Regions from separate parts of the Homo sapiens genome. Here region 2 is linked to region 1. Evidence: promoter capture Hi-C in 16 types of primary human blood cells and fetal thymus (Javierre and others, 2016). All regions are on one chromosome and are shown on one strand. Each heading gives the region's core, a stretch centred on a gene start or on the middle of the fragment in contact. The rest is flanking DNA. Distances are from core to core; before and after follow the strand shown. Region 1 holds the start of FAM216A (family with sequence similarity 216 member A). Region 2 overlaps CCDC63 (coiled-coil domain containing 63).

The links. Contacts are between HindIII fragments. The CHiCAGO score rates a contact against its expected background, and 5 or more counts as called.
Region 2: a contact is called between a fragment that was not itself captured here and the fragment with the promoter of FAM216A in region 1, in 2 of 17 cell types (naive B cells and total B cells). The highest score is 5.6, in naive B cells.

The regions. Positions count from the first base shown.
Region 1 is chr12:110,466,255-110,471,564 of GRCh38, reverse strand. It overlaps FAM216A (family with sequence similarity 216 member A), which reads right to left and starts at 2,720. Exons shown (of 7, transcript NM_013300.3): 1 at 2,547-2,720. The coding sequence starts at 2,689. It overlaps GPN3 (GPN-loop GTPase 3), which reads left to right and starts at 3,308. Exons shown (of 8, transcript NM_016301.4): 1 at 3,308-3,409. The coding sequence starts at 3,362. LOC124903016 (a long non-coding RNA gene) reads left to right here. Exons shown (of 3, transcript XR_007063459.1): 2 at 749-926; 3 at 1,114-1,276. RefSeq lists enhancers at 1,977-2,146, 3,067-3,196 and a silencer at 2,347-2,656. The HindIII fragment of the contact is 771 bases long and covers 2,334-3,104 here.
Region 2 is chr12:110,880,337-110,885,646 of GRCh38, reverse strand. CCDC63 (coiled-coil domain containing 63) reads right to left here. Exons shown (of 12, transcript NM_152591.3): 7 at 4,351-4,532; 8 at 1,397-1,617. Among named protein-coding and RNA genes, the nearest start is that of CCDC63, 36 kb to the right of the region's middle. The HindIII fragment of the contact is 1,393 bases long and covers 2,106-3,498 here.

The DNA.
Region 1 (5,310 bases), core at 1,471-3,970:
GACTTTATAAGGTATGAGGGAGTTTTGAAGGAGTGATAGAGCTGCTCTGTATCTTTAGTGTGGCAGTGCTTACATAGCCATGTGCATTTGTCAAAACCCATCATATTATACATGAAAAAGTAAGACTTTAATTTGTGTAAATTATGCCTCAATAAACCTGACTTTAAAGAAAAAAAGTGCTGGGCACGGTAGCTCCCGCCTGTAATCCAGCACTCTGGGAGGCCGAGGCGGGTGGATCACGAGGTCAGGAAATCGAGACCATCCTGGCTAACATGGTGAAACCCCGTTCTCTACTAAAAATGCAAAAACTTAGCCAGGCGTAGTGGCACGTGCCTGTAGTCCCAGCTACTCAGGAGGCAGGAGAATCGCTTGAACCTGGGAGGCGGAGGTTGCAGTGAGCCAAGATCACACCACTGCACTCCAGCCTGGGTGACAGAGCGAGACTCCATCTCAAAAAAAAAGAAGAAAAAAAGTAAGGAGTTCCGGAGTTCCCATTAGTTAATAATGGGATTTTTGGCAGATCACTTCCCCTTTCAGATTAGTAAATATGACCGGAATTGATGATTTTTAAGACCCCTGCCAGTGCCAACATTGTATCATGTAGCATAATAAACCTGATTCTAGTTTGAAAATTTTATTTTGTATTTCTGGGAATATAAGCTTTTCATAAATTAGTCTTGGTTTGTGTTTTTTAATGGGGTTCCTTAAACCAAACTGAAGGGCATACTGTCTTTTTTTTTAATTGTAGTTTTAAGAGTTTGGATAAACTAAAGGAAGCATGGAGATGAACGACAGGCGGAGATAAAAGGAAAGGACAAACAACCTCTTTGTGCCTGTTTTGTCATCCATAAAGTGGGGATCATAATAGAACCTTCCAGGATTACAGGCTCATGCCCATCTCTACTAAAAATACAAAAATTAGCCAGGTACGTGGTGGCGCACACCTGTAGTCCCAGCTACTTGGGAGGCTGAGGCAGGAGAATTGCTTGAACACAGGAGGCGGAGGTTGCAGTTAGCTGAGATCGTGACACTGCACTCCAGCCTGGGTGACAGAGGGAGACTCTGTCTCAATAAAAAAAAAAAAAAAAATTCACGTATCTCCTGATACACCAGGATCCTGCAGTCGGCCAAGGACTGTGAAGAACAGAAAAGAAACCCAAGACTCCATCCCATCTTTAAGAAGTCTTCAGTAGCACCAGAGACAAAAAGGACGGCCATGCGGGCGGATCACGAGGTCAGGAGATCGAGACCATCCTGGCTAACACGGTGAAGCCCCGTCTCTACTAAAAATACAAAAAAGTAGCCGGGCGTGGTGGCAGGCGCTTGTAATCCCAGCTACTCCAGAGGCTGAGGGAGGAGAATGGCGTGAACCCGGGAGGCGGAGCTTGCAGTGAGCTGAGATGGCACCACTGCACTCCAGCCTGGGCAACAGAACGAGACTCTGTCTCAAAAAAAAAAAAACAAAAAGGATGGCCATGGGTGCAACAGGGGCCCTGACTGCGGGTTGTACTGAACGGCAAACATATCGCAGTTCTTGCTTTTAGGGAATAAAGTAGGGAGAGGAAGAGGAGGTAGAGTCTCCAGCAGTGACTTCAACAGCTCGCTGTCTTCACTATCTAGGAAATAGGTGTAAAAACCTGCTCAAAACGAAATAGATTTGTGAAAAAAGGAACTTCAGTGTGAAGAAAATGTCAAGATCAAGGCACCTCGGATATTCAGTCATTGGTCTCATTGGCGATTAGAAATCCTCGTTTGAGGTCGGGCGCAATGGTTCACCCCGTAATCCCAGCAATTTGGGAGGCCGAGGCGGGCGGCTCACTTGAGGTCAGGGGTTCGACACAAGCCTAGCCAACATGGTGAAACCACCTCTCTACTAAAAATACAAAAATTAGCCGGGCGTGGTGGCAGGCGCCTGTAATCCCAGCTACTCGGGAGGCTGAGGCAGGAGAATCACTTGAACCTGGGAGGCTGAGGTTGCAGTGAGCTGAGATCGCACCACCGCATTCCAGCCTAGGCAACAGAGCGAGACTGTCTCGCTCTCAAAAAACAAGAAAGAAAAGAAAAAAAAAGAAAAAGAAATCCCCGTTTGACAGGAAGGTGGCTCATGTCACTAGAGGGAAGGAACTGGTTTATGGGCCTGGATGCCCCCAGTTGAACCGGGGGACATCTTCCTCCTCTGTCCCTCCCGCCTCGCCTTTCGGTGGACACACAGTCCTGTGCCAGACAGCAAACGTCCCAGCAGGGCTCGCAGCGCCCCCTCGGGGCAGAGAGATGCACGCGGGCGACTGTCGCAGTCACCTCGTGGCCACTGCACCAAACGCTCCTCCGAAGCTTCCCTCAGAGACCCTCCCTCAACCGCGAGGCAGTCCTCCCCTCTGCCCTCTGTCCACAACAAAACTGCTCCCCGCCTCTCACTTGAGGGCACCGGGGCCAGCCCCCGAGACGAGAGGTCGGCCGCAGCCCTCCTCCACGGGGCTCACGACCCGGGGGCCTCACGACCCGGGGGCCCCATGCTGCCACCCTTACCCCGGGGCCCCCAACCTCACCCGCCGCCGCCACCCTCGGTCCCGGCCACAGCGGGCGGCTCTGCAGAAGAGCTACGCTCCGTCCAGTCGGACCCCGGACCCTGGCCGGGCATCTCCGCGGCGCCGAGACCGCGAGCCGTGTGCGGGAGCAGCTGTCCCAGCATCCCTCCCCCGACAGCACGCGTGCGTCAGGCTGCTGGTATTCCGGAGAGGCGGCTCGGATGCTGGCTTCTCGCCCCTCCGAAGCCGTTCGGACACTGCCCGAACAGCTTCGGGAGAGCGGGGCGGGCAGATCCGCGACCCCGGAGTTACGGTGGGGGAGGGGCAGGAGCGCTGCGGTCGCTGAGCGTTTGCACGTTTGCACCTCTCTGTGGAAGCAGTGCGTCACAGGAGGGAAATATACATGCTCCCCAAAACAAGAGGTGCCTTCCACTTCAGTATTCCAGATCCTCAGCACATTTGCAAATCGCGAGGGTCACCATACAGGTCAAACGTCTGCACGCAAACCACGGACCGAAGCACGTGGCGCAAGGATGCGGAGCTTTATCTGTTGTCCGTTATTACTCAGGTATCCAAGCTTAGACAGCATCCCAACGGCCGATTTCCATCAACTACTTTTGCGCACGCGCAAATCCTCTCCCTCGCCCCTCCCCTTTTTTCTCAGGACGCGTTTCTCACGGGATTTGGCCCGCGGGCTGCCCCGTAGTAGGAGGTGTGGTAGAACTGGAGGCGTAGAAAGAATGTGGATTGCGATTGGTTCGCACTTCACTTTCCCGGAGCTCAGTGGGCGTCGCGCGAAGGCTAAGGGAGTGTGGCGGGCGGCTCCGGGAGCCAACATGCCTCGGTATGCGCAGCTGGTCATGGGCCCCGCGGGCAGCGGGAAGGTGAGGATCTGCGGGGACAAGGAGAGAAAAGTAGGAGTTCGTGGAAGGCGGGAGATTGGGTCCTGAGGGAGTGAGCCGGCGGGTGTGTGTACTGGGAACCCTGAGACCCCACGCAACTCATTTCTGCTGTCTGGCTTCACGTTCTTTTTTGTTGTTGTTTTGAAAGGGAAATAATGGTAGTTGTTAATATTTATTGTATACTTAAGCCCCAGGCAGCAGATGAAACGCCTCGCTTATTTCTACAACAACCCTGTGAGAGAGATCTCATTTTTCTCATTTTACAGAAAACGAGATACAGAAAGGTTAATTAAGTTCTTTGCCCCGCAAAAAAATATAAATCCAGTTTTGTCTCAACTCCAGAATCCGGCCCTGTCTCGCTCCCAGGAGGGTAAAGTGGGGTCTCATTAATTACTGTTTCTCAGAACTTGGGACATGGACTTTTGGTATTTAAGGTGCTTTTAGGTGGTAGGTGGTACATGGACCCCACATTAAGGAGCATCAGATAATGTGTTAGGGAAATTGTTCCCTTTTCATTTCTCTTTCAGTTCTCAACTTCGCATTTAGGAGAAGTTGTGCTCGGTGCTAGTGTGTATCTTCAGCACTTCTTTAATCCCCAGGTCTTTTCAGAGAGCAGTTCTTAGTCTCAGAGCTTTTAATAGGCACCTGTATTTAGCTAAAAATAGAACATTTAAAGATTTTATATAATTTTATGTCTAATTTCACGTTATGTCAAATATAAGTGGTTTTCAGTTTACAGTAGGGATAAAATTTTTTCTTGTAAACAAATATTAAGGGAATGTTAGGAACATTCAAATACAGTGAGAATGGTGAAGATATGGATCAAATAACATATGTGTGGGAAACATAGCCAGGCGTGGTGGCTCACGTCTGTAATCCTATCACTTTGGGAGATGGAGGTGGACGGATCGCCTGAGCCCAGGAGTTTGGGACCAGCCTTGGCAACACGGCGAAACTCTGTCTCTACAAAAAAATGCAAAAATTAGCCAGGCCTGGTGGCAGGTACCTCTAGTCCCAGCTTCTCGGGAAGCTGAAGTGGGAGGATTACCTGAACCCAGGAGGTTGAGGCTGTGGTGAGTGGTGATCGTGCCACTGCACTCCAGCCTGGGTGACAGAGGTACTGTCGCAAAAAAAAAAAAGAAGAAGTGTGGAAACACTAGAGTCTGTGGAGGTGTTGTGTGGCCTCAGTCTTTAACAAACACATTGTTCTAAGCTGTTGACTTATTCTGGGTAAAAACATGTACATGTAACTAAGATACCTATGGCCTTTAACTTACCCAGAGTCTGTAGTCTTTTGGGGAAGACAAATAGATGACCTGTCAATTAAGATACAGTGTGATGTGGCCAGGTGTGGTGGCTTAAGCCTGTAATCCTCGCACTTTGGGAGGCTGAGGCCAGCAGATCACTTGAGCCCAGGAGTTCAGGGTCAGCCTGGGCACCATGGTGAAGCCCTGTCTCTACCAAAAATACAAAAATTAGCTGGGCATGGTGGCGAGAGCCTATAGTCCCACCTACTCGGGGGGCTAAGGCTGGAGAATCGCTTGAGCCTGGGTCAAAGCTGCAGTGAGCTATGATGGTGCCACTGCACTCCAGCCTGGGTGACAGTGAGACCCTTTGCAAAAAAAAAAAAGATACAGTGTGTGATGTATGGAGAGGGCATTCCAGACAGAGACAACAGTATGTGTAAAGGCACTGAGAGGACAGCATGATGGATGTTTTTTCTATAGTCTATTTTAATTTTTGGGCTGATTGTATTAAACAAGTATCTTTATAAGCTTTTGATGCTTACTATCAGAAACATTCCTTGAGTACGTTCTTTATCCCAGGCACTGTTTTGGGCCCTGGGGGTTGTATGGGGAAAAAAACATGCACACACAAAATCC
Region 2 (5,310 bases), core at 1,553-4,052, 410 kb before region 1:
AGAGAAAAGGAGGGGAGGGAGAGGGAATAGCACGGGAAGGCAGTGGCGGAGGGAAATGCATGGGACAGCTGGGGCTGGCAGCAGCAGAGGGTGTCTTGGAGGTCATAACAGGACCTGTGTCTGCAAAGGCAGGTAGAAGCCAAATTTTGAAGGGGCTGGAATGTCACACTAAAGGGTTTAGACTCTATTCCATGCAGACAGTTCCAAAGGATGTTTATTTATGTACTGGTGTGTAAATAGCCCAGGAAGCCAATGACATTTGGGAAATTATGGGTTCAACAAAGGTAGACAGGCTTCTTTACTGCAGGACTTGTCAGGGCCTGTGCATCAAGTCTCGCCAAGATGAGAATGAGTTCTCACTCCTCGAAACTGTTGATTAACAAGGGTCAGGTAAGGGGCCAAATAAGAAATACTTTCAGCTTTGCAGGTCCCTCTTGCATATTTCTCTCTCTCTCTTTTTTTTTTTTCTTCTTACAATCCTTTAAAAATGTAAAAATCATTCTTAGCTCATGGGCTACACAGAAATAGCCATGGACTGTAGTTTACTGAATGCTGGTTAATAAAACATGCCATGGATTATAAAGTCACTATTGGGTTGGGGGACATGAATACATGAAATGTATCTATACATTGAAAGACAATTACAGGCCAGGTGTGGTGGCTCACATCTATATAATCCCAGCACTTTGGGAGGCTGAGGCAGGTGGATCACTTGAGGCCAGGAGTTTGAGACAAGCCTGGCCAACATGATGAAACCCCATCTCTACTAAAAATACAAAAAAAAAAAAAAAAAATAGCAGGGCGTCGTGGCGGGCACCTGTAGTCCCAGCTACTCCAGAGGCTGAGGCAGGAGAATCTCTTGAACCGGGGAGGTGGAGGTTGCAGTGAACCAAGATCATGCCACTGCACTCCAGCCTGGATGACAGAGCAAGACTCCGTCTCAAAAAAAATACAAATAAAAAGTAAGGGGACACTGGGTGCAACGTTTCACACTTGTAATCTCAGTACTTTGGGAGTCCAAGGTGGGAGGATTGCTTGAGGTCAGGAGTTCGAGACCAGCCTTGCATGGCAAAATCCCAACTCTACAAAAAATACAAAAATTAGCCAGGCATGGTGGTGCACACCTGTAGTCCAAGCTACTCAGGAGGCTGAGATGCAAGGATCATTTCAGCCTGGGAGGTTGAGACTGCAGTGAGCCAATATCGCACTACTACTGCACTCCAGCCTGGGTGACAGAGTAAGATCCTGTCTCAAACATAAAATGTAAGGGGAATAGAGCGGTGTTGGCCAAACTGCTTTCTGTAGTGCCTCTCACAGAGCCTTCCTAGGAGACTGCCCTGGAAAGGCTGCTGTGGACACAGGGGCCCAGGGCCTGGGAAAGCAGAGCCGCCCTGACCTGGATTCGTTGGGTCCTCTTGTGCATCATCTCCATGTCGTTGTTGAGCTCCGTGACATACGTGAACCGAGCAAAATTCTTCTCCTCCTTGGCCAGAAAATCTTCAATGAGCTGGTTTAGGTTCCCACTCTCAGCCAGCTTCAGCAGCCGGAGGTGGGCCACCTCATAGCTCTCAAAACTCTCTCCCCTGTTCTTCTTGACATGCTTCTTTGCCTTGAGAGCTAGGAAAGGAAAAATCAGCCACTGTGACACTCAAAAGGAAGCTCCTCAGATCCGTGCCAGGCAGACAGTAACGTGATCAATATTATTGTGGCCAGGCATGGTGACTCACGCCTGTAATCCCAACACTTTGGGAAGCCGAGGCAGGCAGATCACCTGAGGTCAGGAGTTCGAGACCAGCCTAGCCAACATGGCGAAACCCCGTCTCTACTAAAAATGCAAAAATTAGCCAGGTGTGGTGGCACATGCCTGCAATCCCAGCTACATGGGAGGCTAAGCCAGGAGAATTGCTTGAACCTGGGAGGCAGAGGTTGCAGTGAGCCAAGTTTGCGCCACTGCACTCCAGCCTGGGCGATGGAGCAAGACTCCATCTCAAAAAACAAACAAACAAACAAGCAAACAAAAAACAAACAAACAAACAAAAAAATATATATATAGTAGTATGCTTTAGGGATGAGGCTAGATGTTTCCAGGAGATAGAGCAGAAGCTTCACCCATCATTCATTTCACAAATATCTCAAGAAGCATTTACTATGAGTCACACACTGTGCTAGGCACTGCTGATACAAAATCCCTGCCCTGGCCGGGCATGGTAGCTCACACCTGTAATCCCAGCACAGGGGTTGAGCCCTGGAGTTCAAGACCAGCATGGACAACATAGCAAGACCCCACCTCTACAAAAAATTTTTAAAATTAGGCCGGGTGCAGTGGCTCCCGCCTGTAATCCCAGCACTTTGGGAGGCCAAGGCAGGTGGATCACGAGGTCAAGAGACTGAGACCATCCTGGCCAACATGGTGAAACCCCGTCTCTTCTAAAAATACAAAAATTAGCTGGGTGTGGTGGCATGTGCCTGTAGTCCCAGCTACTCAGGAGGCTGAGGCAGGAGAATCACTTGAACCCAGGAGGTGGAGGTTGCAGTGAGCCGAGATTGCGCCACTGCACTCCAGCCTGGGTGACAGAGCAAGACTCCGTCTTAAAAAAAAAAAAAAAAAAATTTAAAATTAGCCAAGTGTCGTGTTGAATGCCTGTGGTCCTAGCTACTCGGGAGGGCAAAGTGGGAGGATGGCTTGGGCCTAAGAGGTCAAGGCTGAAGTGAGCTGTGACTGTCACACCACTGCACTCCAGCCTGGGAGAAAGAACTAGACCCTGTTTCTTAAAAATAAATAAATAAATAAATAAAAGGATCGTTTAGGCACACCTGACCATGTGACCTTTTTACAGGTTGTGGCTCCCCACTGTTCTGGGGAGGCTCAGGCGATCCTCCCACCTCAGACTCCCCAGTAGCTGAGACCACAGGCAAGTGCCACCATGCCCAGCAGTTTATCCCAAACACCTGCTTTTCCTCTGAGTGTCTAGAATTTTGGTATGTGCTAGGCAGAGGGTGTCTACACGACCAGCCCCCAGTAAGAATTTGGGGTACTGAATCTCTAGTATACCCCACTATGAGATAACCTTTTTTTTTTTAAGAGACAGGGTCTCACTCTGTCACCCAGGCTGGAGTGGCGCAATCATAGCTTGCTGCAGCCTCAAACTCCTGGACTTAGGATCTGCTTTTTTCTACCCCTCAGCACCTTGTCACCATCAGACCTTCTGAGATCAAGCCATCCTCCCATCTCAGTCTCCAGAGTAGCTGGGACCACAGGCATGTACCACTATGCCCAACTAATTTTTTTTTATTCATTGTAGAGATGGGGTCTTGCTCATTTGCCCAGGCCAGTCTCAAACTCCTGGCCTCAAGTGATCCTCCCGCCTTGGCCTCCCAAAGCACTGAGATTACAGGCATGAGCCACCATGCCCAGCCTAGTAGATAACTCTTGACATGATGTGTGGTCACAGATCCTGAAAGAACCATGTGTGCTCAGTGTGACTGTACTTGGAAGCTTGCGCCCAGTTTCCTCCAGACGCCGGACCACACACCTTCTCCCTGTGCTGATCTTGCTTGGTGCCTTTTCACTGTAATGCATCACAGCCATGAATGTGCCTCAGTGCTGAGTCCTGCGAGATATGCTAGTGAATCATCAAACCTAGAGATGAACCTGGGGACCCCTGACAATAAGTCTCCTTCTAAATAATAGAAAGAGAGTCCCAGATGAAGACACATGCTGTAAATTAGGGTTGGCAGATAAAATAGAGGGTTCTCAGTTAAATTTGAATTTCAGACAAATATATTTTTAAGTATAAATATGTCCCAATTATAGATAAACAAAAAAGTTTTATCATAAGTATGTCCCAAATGCTGCATGAGACATAGTTATCCTAAACATTTATTTATTGTTTATTTGATATTTAAATTTAACTAGGCATTTTTTTTTTGAGAGTCTTATTCTGTTGCCCAGGCTGGAGTGCAGTGGCATGATCTTGGCTCATTGCAACCTCTGCCTCCTGGGTTCAAGTGATTCTCCTGCCTCAGCTTCCCAAGTAGCTGGGATTACAGGCACTCACCACTATGTCCAGCTAATTTTTTTGTATTTTTAGTAGAGACGGGGTTTCACCATGTTGGTCAGGCTGTTCTCAAATTCCTGACCTCAAATGATCAGCCTGCCTTGGCCTCCCAAAGTGCTGGGATTACAGGCGTGAGCCACCATGCACAACCTTAACTAGGCATCTTATATCTTTATTTGCTAAATTTGACAACCACAAGGAGACTTGGGCACCTTCACTTAAAAAGAGAGAAAGAGAGAAAGAAGGCAAGAAAGAGAGTGAGAGAGCACAAGCTTGCTCCTGGAGGGTGTACCTTCCTCCCTTTTGGCCTGCTCCTCGAATTCATTGCGATCATTCAGCTTGACGAGCAGGAAGGACTTGAGCTTGCTCTCATGGGCATAGAGACGCTCCAGCTCTCGGATCTCCAGGTTGTACTGAGAGGTGTCCTTCTTCTGGCGGTCTTTCATGGCAGCCATTCGAGCCATGGCCTCCACCCTGGGCAAAGGGAGTACAGAGCCTGAGCATCTGAGGCTCCTCCTCTCTACTTCCCTTTCCCTGCCAGTCCAGAAGGCCTTCCTGCCTAGAGAATGACTATCACTTTTATTTATCATAAAGGTTTCTCGGTGTGTAAAAACAATCCTCCTTACCTGAACAACAGGAGCTGTAAGCTCTAGATCACTCCCAGAAATGATTTTCCATCATTATCATCATCATTGCCTTCAGCATCACCATCATCATCATCACCACCACCACCATTACCACTATCACCATCACCATTATCACCATCACTACCATCACCATCATCATTGTCACCATCATCATCACCACCATCATCATTATCACCACTATCATCACCACCATCACCATCACCACCCCATCACTATAACCATCATCACCATCACCATATCACCATCATTACCATCATTATCGTCACCACCATCATCACCACTTATCAATTACTGTGTCCCAGGCACTACTTTACATTTATATATTATTTAATCCTCTTTACCATCTAAAGAGCTCCTACAACAATACAGTAGTGATGAAACCAGGATTTAAACCCAGATCTGACTCTGAAGGCTACGCCCTTCACAGCCAAACTATATGCCTTTTGCTCCTATGAGTGTGAAGCCAGCAGAGACCCAGATTGAGAAAGATCCCCTTGGACTAGAGGCAGGGGCACTTGGAGGAGATGGTACAGCACAGAGGTTTGAATCTCAACTTCACCACAATCACCACTTACCTGGATCTCAGGTAGGCATTTTAGCATCTC